Regions from separate parts of the Homo sapiens genome. Here region 2 is linked to region 1. Evidence: promoter capture Hi-C in 16 types of primary human blood cells and fetal thymus (Javierre and others, 2016). All regions are on one chromosome and are shown on one strand. The core of a region is centred on a gene start or on the middle of the fragment in contact, and the rest is flanking DNA. Distances in the headings are between cores, read along the strand shown. Region 1 holds the start of HABP2 (hyaluronan binding protein 2). Region 2 overlaps VTI1A (vesicle transport through interaction with t-SNAREs 1A).

Evidence for each region. The method cuts DNA at HindIII sites, captures the fragments that hold promoters and counts their contacts. A CHiCAGO score of 5 or more calls a contact.
Region 2: a contact is called between a fragment that was not itself captured here and the fragment with the promoter of HABP2 in region 1, in 2 of 17 cell types (M1 macrophages and M2 macrophages). The highest score is 5.9, in M1 macrophages.

What each region holds. Positions count from the first base shown.
Region 1 is chr10:113,550,560-113,556,531 of GRCh38, reverse strand. HABP2 (hyaluronan binding protein 2) reads right to left here and starts at 3,479. Exons shown (of 13, transcript NM_004132.5): 1 at 3,342-3,479. The coding sequence starts at 3,410. The HindIII fragment of the contact is 3,226 bases long and covers 2,833-5,972 here.
Region 2 is chr10:112,556,403-112,562,374 of GRCh38, reverse strand. All of the region lies in intron 5 of VTI1A (vesicle transport through interaction with t-SNAREs 1A), which reads right to left. Among named protein-coding and RNA genes, the nearest start is that of MIR4295, 75 kb to the left of the region's middle. The HindIII fragment of the contact is 2,799 bases long and covers 1,853-4,651 here.

The DNA of each region.
Region 1 (5,972 bases), core at 2,230-4,729:
TTGCTATGTTGCTAGTCTCAAACTCCTGGCCTCAAGCAATCCTCCCACCTTGGACTCCCAAAGTGCTGGGATTACAGGCATGAGCTACCATGCCTGGCCTCAAACTTCATCTAATAACAGCAGCGGTGGCTACCCCTCTCCATGGTGCCAGCCAAGAATGTGAACCCAATGCTACTCAAATGTCTGATTTTCAAGAAAAGCTGGGAATCTGTATCTTTAATGGGAAATGTTCTGTGTTCCGATTTTCAAATGTGGCCAAGCAATTAAAATAAAACTAAAATACTCTTGGAGTCAATCTTCTATCCACCAAGTTAAACTTGAGCTGTGAGCAGAGTGTATTTCAAGCTGCCAATTTGCAACTTCTGACCTATGCAAACTGTTTTGTGGCTCTATCCCTGGGAAGATTCTAGAGTTCTAGGGTTTTAAAAGCCCAGAAATGTAAACATTGTTTTAATTGAAAGCACCTCCTTTGCAGGGGAGAGGAGAAGCCTTTGTCTTTCTTCTTTCTAGGGATGGGCTGAGATAAGCAGGCAAGCTTGACAAACATTGTCCTCTGGTTTCTGGGCTTGGAGAGGCCAAATTCCATTATGGCTGAGCCCAGCTGGGCCCCAAATCACTCTAAGAATCCTAGCAAGAAGAGATTTCTAAGACAGTCCACGCCTTATTTACAGTTAAGCAGGCCTCCTGTGATGAATGTGGAGTCAGACAGACCTGGCCCCAATCCTGGCCAGAAAGTCATTTTAACATCTCTGGGTTTGTATCTCATCCATAAAACAGGGATAATGATATGAGGTTGTGCTGGACAGGTGCTCAAAAATGATATGTTAGGAAAACCAAACCTCGAGTAGAACAGCAAGGCACAATGAATGATGCCCTGGAGTTCACAGCAATGATTTTTGACCCATATCTCTTGGGCTAGTGGATATCAGAATAAAAATCTCCATGACAGATGATCCCAAAGAACAGTCCTCATTTGCTACATGATCTGAATTCATGGGAGAGTACCTGGGTGTCTTTCCAATGAATAGTGACCACAGATCCTATAGCTGCCTTTCTTTGGAGTTTCAGAGACACGTGGAGTCCATTACACTCCACCCAGCAAACATGTGCCTGGTCTAAGAGGCCTTTCCCTACAGGAAAAGCCATGTCCCTGAAGCTGTACGAACCAAAGAAATCTCATCCTCACCCAGGGCCCCAGACAGGAGACTGGCTACACGGAAACCAGTCTGTAATCCAGAGCTCAGCTCTGCCACTCATCAGCTGTATGACTTGGGACAGGCCCAGTTTTCCAGCTTCGTTTCTGTAAAATGGGAGCATAGTAGGAATTACTTCTTGGGGTCCTTCCAGAGATGAACCAATTCATGGAAAGTTCAGGGGCTAGCACTCAGGACTTCTCATTAAATGGTAGCAGTTAGTTATGACTTTTAGCTGTGTGGGGCTGGAGAGGCCACCCAGCCCAGCTGGCTATGTGGCTTCTTTACCCCCATGACGCCCCAAACTCTCCAAAGCATCTGAACGACTTGGCCACTTTCCCCTGATGTCTGTATGCCAGCCTGTGGAACACAAGCCGCCTTCCCGACCACCTGTCTGGCACACATCTGGGGTAAGAAAGCATTCCAAAGCCCCGAATCCTCTCTTTGGAATTGACTAAGCTCATTGCCTGAAGGCTAACTCTCATATTTTCTCTTTTATCCATTATTGACTTATAATTTCATTGCTAACCCTAAAAATTCAATGGGGTTTGCAAAAAAGGGATTTTTCGGGACCATTATCCTTTTGTGAACTTCAAACATACCGTGTCAACGTTTCTCCTTGCCCGCAAAGTTTAGGATCTAATTCTTTCCGACTGGTATGTTCTCTGGGCCCCGCGTGGGCCTCCGATGATTTCTCCTGCCTTTCTCTAGACCTGTGGTATTTCTGCTGTGTCTCGGCCTCAGACACCAACAAGCCATCAAATGATGTAGGGGCTTGACAACAATTTGTAATTACAACCACCACACACACACAAGTCATGATTTGAAAAGAAAACCCTTTCAGAAGTGAGTCACTTGGCAACTTAATACAGAGCTAAGATAGGTGTCTGAGCACAGTTGACGGAAAAGAAAGGAGAAGCTATTGTTTTAAAAACATGCTAATCAGAAAACTGTAACTTAATCTGCTTCATTCAGGAAACGCTCTATGGAGTGAAATGGGGAACAAAATGCAAAGGTACTTAATAAGACAGAGAGGTTATGACTGTTATTTTAGTTCTTATCCTCTGCCCACTTTCTACCACCCCTCCCGAACAAGGCGGAGCATTCTCTGATTTTTATGGAGAAGTTGTGTTCATTCTTGACATTTTAAGGGAGTAGAGCTCACATTTATTTGCAAGCCACATACATGACCTCGTTTACTTGTGGCCCTCCCCAAATCTATGAGAGGTTAGCACTTGATTTGCAGAAGACAACACTGAGGCTCAGAGAGATTATGTTCCTTGCCCAACATTCCACAGCTAGAATGTGGCAAAGCTGAGATTCGAACCCTGGCTCCAAAGCCCACATTCATGCCTCAGACCACAACCAGCACGGAACTCCAAGGAGACTCTATTTCTGTGCAAGGTCCTCTTTCCATGCCCACAGAGATCCATCTGACACTCTTGGACCATGGCACACAGAAGGAACTAACATCTTGACAAGTCATCTGCTCCGGAAGGTCCTGAGTCCCCCGTTCAAGACTCTCTGATGGGACTTCCCTTCCCTGCGCACTGCAACCTCCCTTGGGCCCCTGCTCACCTTCTCTGCCTCATCTGCTGCTGTCACAGGGAAAAGGAGACAAAGTACTAAACACAAAGCTTCTCCCCAAATCCAAACTATTTATGCAGACCCACTGCCAGGATCTTTTGCAGTCAGCAGGCTTCCCCTCTAAGGCCATAGCACATTGCTTCTTACCCTAGTGTCAGCCACAAATCGCTGGAAAACTGTGTGTGTCAGCACCAATAGATAGGTATATTTTCCTGGGGAGAGAGTTTATAGCTTTCCATGGCTTCTCAAAGGGGTCTATGAGATCCATGACAGATTACAATCCATGCCCTGGGGCACATTTTCTTGCCCCAGTCTCCTTTGCTGGAATGCATTCATGGAGGCTCCGCTCCAAGATGGCTCAAGTCAGACACCTGTTCCCATGGGAGTGGCTGCTCAAAAGAAACCAAGCCACAGGCCTGCATTGGTTCTTGTAGTTAGAACATCTCCAACTTGGCAACTCCAGCCTTTCACTCTAAAGTTTCTCATCACTCCCAGCCTAGCTTGGTCCTCCTAGTAAACTTCGGAGTCTCTCAACTACAAATATTAGAAAAGAACACTTACCCCACAGGCTGTCTTTCCCACCAGAGCCATTAACAGCAGAACATGGAGATCAGACATCCTGGCAAACATCTTTGCAGTTTAAGGACTTGTGTTTTCCTCTCAATAAAATTTCTTTTGTTGTCTATGCCTTTAGGGGGGAAAAATGTCAGTCTCCAAGGATTCAGGAACAAATGAAGAGGATGCAAATTATTAACTAGGCATCAAATACTGTTTAATGTTTAATGTTTTGCAAACTAACTATCTTGATTAAACAAATGGCAACTTTGGGGCTGGGCTGAGTCATGAAGTGGTTTCTCTTCTGGGGAGAAACTCTCCAAAGAAAGTAGCTGACATAGCCCCCTGGCTCCACGGTGCACATGACAGCTGCTGGGTGTTCCGAGCAGGAAGCCTGACAGCGTGACTAGCATCCCAGCCTCAGGATAAAAGATCAGGTGAAGCCTGTGCCACAGGCCTCTGCCAGTGCTGATTTGTACAGAATGTTAATAGACTTCTGGTTCATCAAATCTCAAACAGAATTAAGGCATGGATGGGCTCCTAATAACATCACACTTTATATTCATGAGACATAAATTAAAGGATGCAAAACTGCTATTGACAAACATTGATTCTGGGCCCTTTGAAGTGTTGCCCACAGTTGCTTGTTGGCTTCAAAAGTTTTGTTTTAAACCTCATTAGGTAAGACTTTTACTTTTTAATTATTTTTTCCCCTTTTGCTGGAGTCTTTCTTTGATCAAGCGGAGGAAAAAAAACATGGTGTTCATATTTCAGGACAATTGTTTCCTATGTTCCTTATTTAGCTATGCTGGTTGCAGGTAGAGTTCTGTCAAGCAGCAATTACCTATTAAGTGTGGGTTCTTGTGGACACAATTGATCTCTTTAATAGGCATGATCTTAATCTCCTGTAAACAACTGACTGCCCACAGAAATCTATGCCTGGGTTCCAGGAATCCTCCTGACTTGAGTCATAAATCCAGGTTTTGAAATGCTGCTGCCAGCGGAGGCATGTGCTCACCTGTGCCCCCCTGCCCAGCCCTGCCCCTACCTGCCATCCCTGTTTGGCACGTGGACTGCATCAGTGGCTGCATCTACTTCTGAAAGCCAAGTTGCTAGCCGGGGAGGGCCCCACAGATCCCAGCCCAAAAGAATGCCCCAGTCACCAGATGAGCCTTGAAGGACTAGCCAAGTCCTGGTCCTGCCATTTTACCTCCTAAATGACTTCCACATTATTTTCTTTTATCCACATATTTTTGTCTCCATCCTATTTTAGGCAGCCATCAACTCCCCCCACCCCGCCTCCTATACCATCAACATCCACCTGATCACCATAATACAAGCCCATGTTAGTAGTCCCTTTTTCTTTTTATTATTATTATTATTATTATTTTGAGACAGAGTCTCACTCTGTCATCCAGGCTGAAGTGCAGTGGCGTGATCTTGGCTCACTGCAACCTCTGCCTCCTGGATTCAAGTGATTCTCCTGCCTCAGCCTCCTGAATAGCTGGGAATACAGGTGTATGCCACCATGGCTGGCTAATTTTTGTATTTTTAGTAGAGACGGCATTTCGCCATCTTGGCCAGGCTGGTCTCAAACTCCTGACCTCAGGTGATCCACCCGCCTCAGGCTCCCAAAGTGCTAGGATTATAGGCATAAGCCACTGCGCCTGGCTGTAGTCCCTTTTCCTAGAAAGTTCTTCTCTAGCCCTACTCTGTCCTTCCCCTAATCCTTATGACAACCATAAATTTGTTAACTGGAACCCTGCTCACTCCTGAGCAAGTTAATTTAGTTAACTCTCCTAGTTAATGCATCTTTCATCTCTTAGCCCAAACATTACTTCCTCAGAAGCCCTGCATGCATTTCTTCTTTACAGCATTTATGAGGTTGTAATGTCACAGCCGTATTGCTATTTCATTAATATTTGTTTCCCATTGTCCCCATTAGACTGAAAACTCAGGAGAGCAGGCACTCTGTTTCAATCACCATTGAATCCTTGGCATAGATGCCCAGCACTGGATAGACGCTCAATAAGTTTATGTTGGATGAAATGAACAAATGAATGACCACTTTATCCATGTGACAGTTGGACATGTTATCACCAGGATGCCTTAGATAGCATAGCCAACTCAATGTGAAAGGAAAAACTGGATGTGGAAAACTAAAAGTATTTGTGAAATTTTAAGCACACTTCAACTTATTCATGAACACTCCATTAATATTCATCAAATACTTACAGAAGCTCTGCTGTGAGCCAGGCATTGGTGATGTGGGGATGAAGGAGGCAGATGTGAACTGGTTGAGGAGGAGATGGGCAGACAGTGAAAAAGTAAACAGTTAATTTTCGTTAGTGGTTTCTATGAAAAAGAGTGAAACAAGGCGATGGAATAGCAATCCTCATGGGCGGGACGATGGGAGGTGGTTACCATGACATGGTGGCCACGGTGACATGGTGGCTAAACAGGACATCGGTGCAGTGCTGAGGATTTTGTTGGTGGTTACTTGATCCCAGAGCAAGGGCCAAGGAGGCAGCACACATGAGGACTTTGCTGGAGTCTTCACAGTGTTTGTACAGACGGTAAAAAACAAAAACGGAAATGTTCAGACAAGTCAAACCATGAAATCACTCATGTGACTCA
Region 2 (5,972 bases), core at 2,003-4,502, 990 kb after region 1:
GAAATAAACATTTGCCAAGCAGAACTGCAAGGTAAACACAGAGAAAACAGAAGAGTGTGGCCCTTTAATTCTCGAACAAACATTAAGGCTTAAAGGAAGAATATGAAAAAATATAGACTGTTTCTAAATAATAAAACATCATTGTTTCTGGACGATGATACTTTAAACCTGCAGTGTCGTAAGTTATGTCTGCCTGTTTGCTCCTGATAAACCAGCTGTAACTCAGGAATATATGACAAGTACTGGAAAGGGCATTTGAGAAGCAGAAAAATAGGCATTTGCCATTATTTTATTTTATTTTTTCTGAAGGAAAGTTCATCAAATGACTCAGAACACTCCTTTGGCTTTTATGAAATAAAAAAAAGTTGTATCTCAGGGGCTAAGAACTTCAGGTGGAATTGGTAAATTCTGGTAAAAGAGTTCGATGATAGATTTTTTAATTTTGGGGGAGTGAAATGTTGATGATAAAAGCAACTCAGAAAAGTATTTCTTTATTTATAAAAAACTATTTCTGAGAGGGAAAGAGAATACAACAGCCTTTAGTTTGCAATATTCTTCCATATATTTCTAGAGTCTCCCTAAAGTCTCTTTAAAGACTTTTTTCCAGAATGTTTTTTTCAAGTGCTGACTGTAAGCATGATCTATTTTGTTGTATGAGTTCCTATATTATTCTAGAATTTTTCAGTTATCAGTGATCAGAAAACCATGTTAAAATATCTTTTTCCATTTGAGTTAAACTTCCAAATTTAAATAAAAAGTAACCAGTTTTCAGAAATCATTGTTATGAACTGATGATGCTTACAGCTTCATGTTGATGAATTTAAGTATTTGTTATATCCTTGTAGGCAACCAAAGAGATTTTACTTATCATATAATAAAATGGAAAACTGAGATTTACACAAAGACACTACAAGTAAATGTCCCTAGTCCAACCATTTCTGCCTACTTCTTGTTACAAAATTTCAGCGAAACAAACATTATATTCCAATGATTGATAAAGCAACATGATCACACTGCAACCTAATTTTCACTATTAATTTTGTAGCCTAAAAACAATTACCAAAGTAAACTTATGAAATTGGAATGGGTAAACAGTGGAAAAGAAACAAAGCTCAATAACTAAAGCATGCAGCAAATGAAAAAGGGAACCTAGATTCATTATTGGCTTAAAATCTTTACCACCAAATGCTTATTAATGAGTATACACTAGTTTGCAGGGTAAACTGACTTGAGTAGAGTATACTTTTCTTAATTATAACTTTGCCAAATGAAACACAATATTCTTTTTTTAAAAAAATATTTTTTTTGAGAGAACCACTTGAATGTATTAAGAATTTCAATACAATAAGAGACAAAGATTAATTCTAAAATGTCATAAAACCACACGAAATCTTCTTAAAAGTGGTCTGGGATGGGAAATGGCTATAATTATTATAATGCTAAAGGTTAGTGAGAAACTTTTTGAAATAAGCACTTCTGGCCAGGCGCGGTGGCTCACGCCTGTAATCCCAGCACTCTGGGAGGCCGAGGTGGGTGGATCACTTGAGGTCAAGAGATAGAGACCATCCTGGCCAACATGGTGAAACCTCGTCTCTACTAAAAATACAAAAATTAGCTGGGCGTGATGGTGCGCGCCTGTAGTCCCAGCTACTCGGGAGGCTGAGGCAGGAGAATCACTTGAACCCGGGAGGCAGAAGTTGCAGTGAGCCGAGATCATGCCACTGCACTCCAGACTGGCGACAGAGTGAGACTCCATCGCAAAAAAAAAAAAAAAAAAGCACTTCTATTTGCAGTAAAGGAATATAGCTGCCCATTTCCTTCAATCATTCAACAAAATGCCTCTCAGGAAGCTTACATTCTTGTGGAGAAGGCAAACAAAAAATGAGTAATGGATTACTCCTTACAATTAATGTTATGAGGAAGGGGCTTGGTAAGATTCAGGGGAAGCCTGCTTTAGAAAGAGTGGTCAGGGTAGTCTTCTTTGAAGACATAACATTAAACTAGAAACCTAAACCATGAGAAGGAGCTTAGCCAAGTTCCTTTCACATGCGAATGCATCAACACTTTTAAAAAAAGGTATTTCTGGAAAGTTGCATACTACATTTTTTCTTATTTAAAAAAACCCTAGTAAGTACTCTAAAGACCTATCACTATTAAGATAATCCAGTAATAAAAACTCTCAAAGCAGAGAATCCTGAATAGAAAATCTTTATATGTTAAAGTACACCCATTACTAAACATCGCTCACCCTAATCTTTCTAGAGTCAGAAGGCCTTTCAAGATCATACACTCAATGGACCAGAGTCAGCACTGCAATTACTCCTGTCTGGGTCAGTTAGAACTACAAGTGACAAACTAGCTTTTACTATCTCAGATGCCTTAAAAGCAGGATGCATGTTTTTAGGTAACCATGGGTACATCCCCACACACGTGTGTGGCCACTCTGGCTGGTCAGCACTATAAAGAATAGAATACCTTTTCCATTTCAGTAACTACTACCCATCATAACTTTATTTCCCCCAATTTTTTCTCATAAGACACCCAATACAGGTATTCTCCATGTCTGGGGTACATGAATGCTTTTCTGTTACAAGCAACATCTAGAATGGCTGTGTGGCTCTGTGTGTACAGAATTAACATTTTATTGAAGTAAGCACCAGTCTTTCCTAAGAGGGCTGCCTGATTGGTTAGTGGAAAATGGATGGAGTGAAGGGAAGAATAGCTGATAAAGAGATAATCCACTGTGGAAACGTGGCTGTGCGGGATGGCAGCACTGGGGGGTGCATGTAGGGTGAGGGAAGAAGAGGAAGGCCTCCTTTCTGTTGTTGCATTTGAAGTGGGAAGGAGGCCTGCAGTGAGCAAACTTCAGATGTAAAGAACAAAAGGCCAGGTTTTCCCCCTACACCATCGCTCTACCTTTTTCTCAATACTGACGAGATGATGAGGTCTCAAGCTGAAGCCCTACAGAATTATACTTTGACAGCCTATATTTATTAGTCAGGTTTATTTTCCAGATATACAAAGTAAAGCATTCATTATTATGTATGAAACAATTAAATGGAGCAATGTTGCCAATCTGTACTTGGGCAAAATTTAGAAGTATCTCTGCTCTTTACAACGGAATCAGTGCACATCAGTATAACCAACATGTGTTATATGTTCATCCAAAATCTGAAATCACTTAAAGAAAGAAAAACTTGCAGTCAATCATCATTAATATTGCTTAGGTCAATTTACACATTTTTTTCCTATTCCTTTAAATGAATTATTTGGAGAGGATGGTAGTTCCTAAGCTGATGGTGGATCTGAGGTTGCCAGTTACGGGAGCACTTAAGCGCCCATTGGCACAGCAAGATTCAAAGCCCTGGTAGGCTTCAAAGAAACACTTTTTTTTTCTTCTTCTAGAACTCTTTGCTTTCTAGTAAAGCTGCAACCACAATGTTCTCTCTCTTAATGCCACCATAAAAAATCAAAACACTTTAAAACAAATTGATGTACTCTTTAATACAGTCACCACATCATCACAGGACCCTTGCACCCTGCATGGTGACAACCGTAGGGATGCATACCACACATCTCTTTCTTTGTTGCCTGCTTCAATGCTTAAAGAAAAATCGAGAGAGAGTGTGTGTCTCTCAATTGAGATATGGGCACCTTTGATTGACAGGACCTAATCAGCTTATCTCCACACTAATAAAGTTGGGGCCTGTGGAGCTGGTATATGCCCAGCACCAAGTGAACTTTTACTAGCCAAAGCTGCACAGGCCAGGTCTCAGGCTCTGCTTCTCTAAACTGGTTCAGATCAATTCTTAATGGGCTATTTTCATCTTGATAAACCTCTATAGTCTTCATTCATGATAGCATTAGAGGCTATTTAGCTGGATGAATTGCCTAAAGTAATGGCTACACAGTAAGTCTATGATAAGTATTTATGCACACTGAATCAATAAGCTGTCTTTTCCCAGCTCCCTGTAAAGAAATAAAAAGTAACTTCTAAAATCAGAGGTTTTTCCCTTTTACATGATTATTTATTAAAGGGCATGACTTTTTTTTAAAAAAATTAAAGGACGACAGGATCCTCTGCCCATTAGGAAACAGATTCTTTTAATAATTTCTACTGTAAATACTACTGGATTTTCACTTCCTTGGGATGAAGCCCAGTCCTGACACTGCCATACACTGTGATTTCTCTGTCTCCACCATTCTGGTACTTAGAGACACTGACTTGCTCAGACTAGACATTCACTAAATGTGCCTTGATTTTGGGGGAATGAAGAATGCAAGTCCAGGAAACACACATGAACAGGAGTTGAGGGGTGGGTGGCTACAGACACACGTGCATGCGTATTTTCTTCTTCAATTTTACTTGTAGGAAGCCCTTTCAAACCACGCCTTTTCTACCTCATTCAAGAACAATATCTTTGTTCTTATCTGTTTCTAATTGCTATGTAAAGGTTAAATTCAAGAGTTGAGGTGTAAATAAAGTTATTAAAACACCAGGTGCTTCTTCATCTACATGGTGGAGCCCTGGAGAAGAAGTCCTCCTTTACACATGCCAGGGTGAGAGTAAAATACACAGTGGGCATTTTGATCCCACCTTTCATATGCAGTTATCTAAAGAGAAAGATGGGCTCACTGGAGAAAGCAAGCTTTACAGAAAAATCTCCAGTAGTGGAGAAATGTTTTGAAATGATAACAATTGTCCAAGTGTGAATATATATATATAATTTGTTCCTCCCACCATATATAAATGGTCCTTAAAATTATTCAGTAATGCTGTTTTCAAACTGCAATATACCTTAAGTATTATAATCACCTGCATAAAATGAGGCAATTTTAAACACATTCCAAAATGACATTTCTACAGACTATAGGAAATCTTCAGCAATATTTTTCATTCAGATTGTGGTCTTCATGCTATAATTGCTTTATACAAAATCCACTCCAGCCTTATCACTCAATACTATCTTTACTGCTGAACATCGGAAGATAATTTTGCAATAAAATTTAATTTACAGAGCTTATTTTCCACTAATCTCCTAGCAGAGGAAAAATTAAACATGCCAAGGTACACACTCCAAGTTATGATCCTAATGGCATTTTTAAAAATTTCTGGAATAGCACGCCACTAAACATATCAATTTTATCATATTGAAATGTTGACAAATTTTAATTATCAAAACTTTATATCCTAGAAGAGAAAGTAAAAGAGGCTATTAAGAATATGTATGAAAATAAGATTCTTCAAGCAATAAAGTTCCCCTGTGGAAAGCTTTTCTTCCATAAGAAAAAAAATACTTAATATAAAAATATGGGACTAGTAAAGTTATTTTATTCAAACCATTAATATATCAGTAACGGTCAACAATATTGAGATTTTCAAATAAAAAATTCAAAGCCAGTAACAATAAATAGGGACTAGACATCAAGACTCAGTTTTCTGTATAAAATGACAAAGTCAGGTTTCTTATCTCCAAGGCTTATGCCAGCTGTAAAACTTTTAATTTTAAATATTTAGATGCCATGCAAAATTTGGAAGAGTAAATTAATAGTAGAAGGTTTATTTCTACAGGCCTTTTGGTCTCTATATATCATTTATGTCCTAGAAGGCATTCATCGCTTGAAAAACAAAAAAAATTTTCTTTTACAAAAAGTATTGAGCCCTCTAAAACAATTAATGCCACAAATTAGGATAAGATATAAGCCAATCCTGTTGCTCACAAAGAAATAGCTTCATTTTTACAATGGTGAAATATACTTAAAGAGTCCTCATGAAAACTTAAATTCTTTGCCAAAATGGTAACATAATAAAAAAATTAATGAGCATTAATGGGTTGAGAGATTTGTGTTTGATGTCTACACTGAATGAGACCACCATTTTCTAGAACAGATTTAAATCACTCTGCCTCTTTTAAAAGTTATATCATAACAAGGCCAAACTGATACTGAATCATTTATGAGGTTTTTAGAGT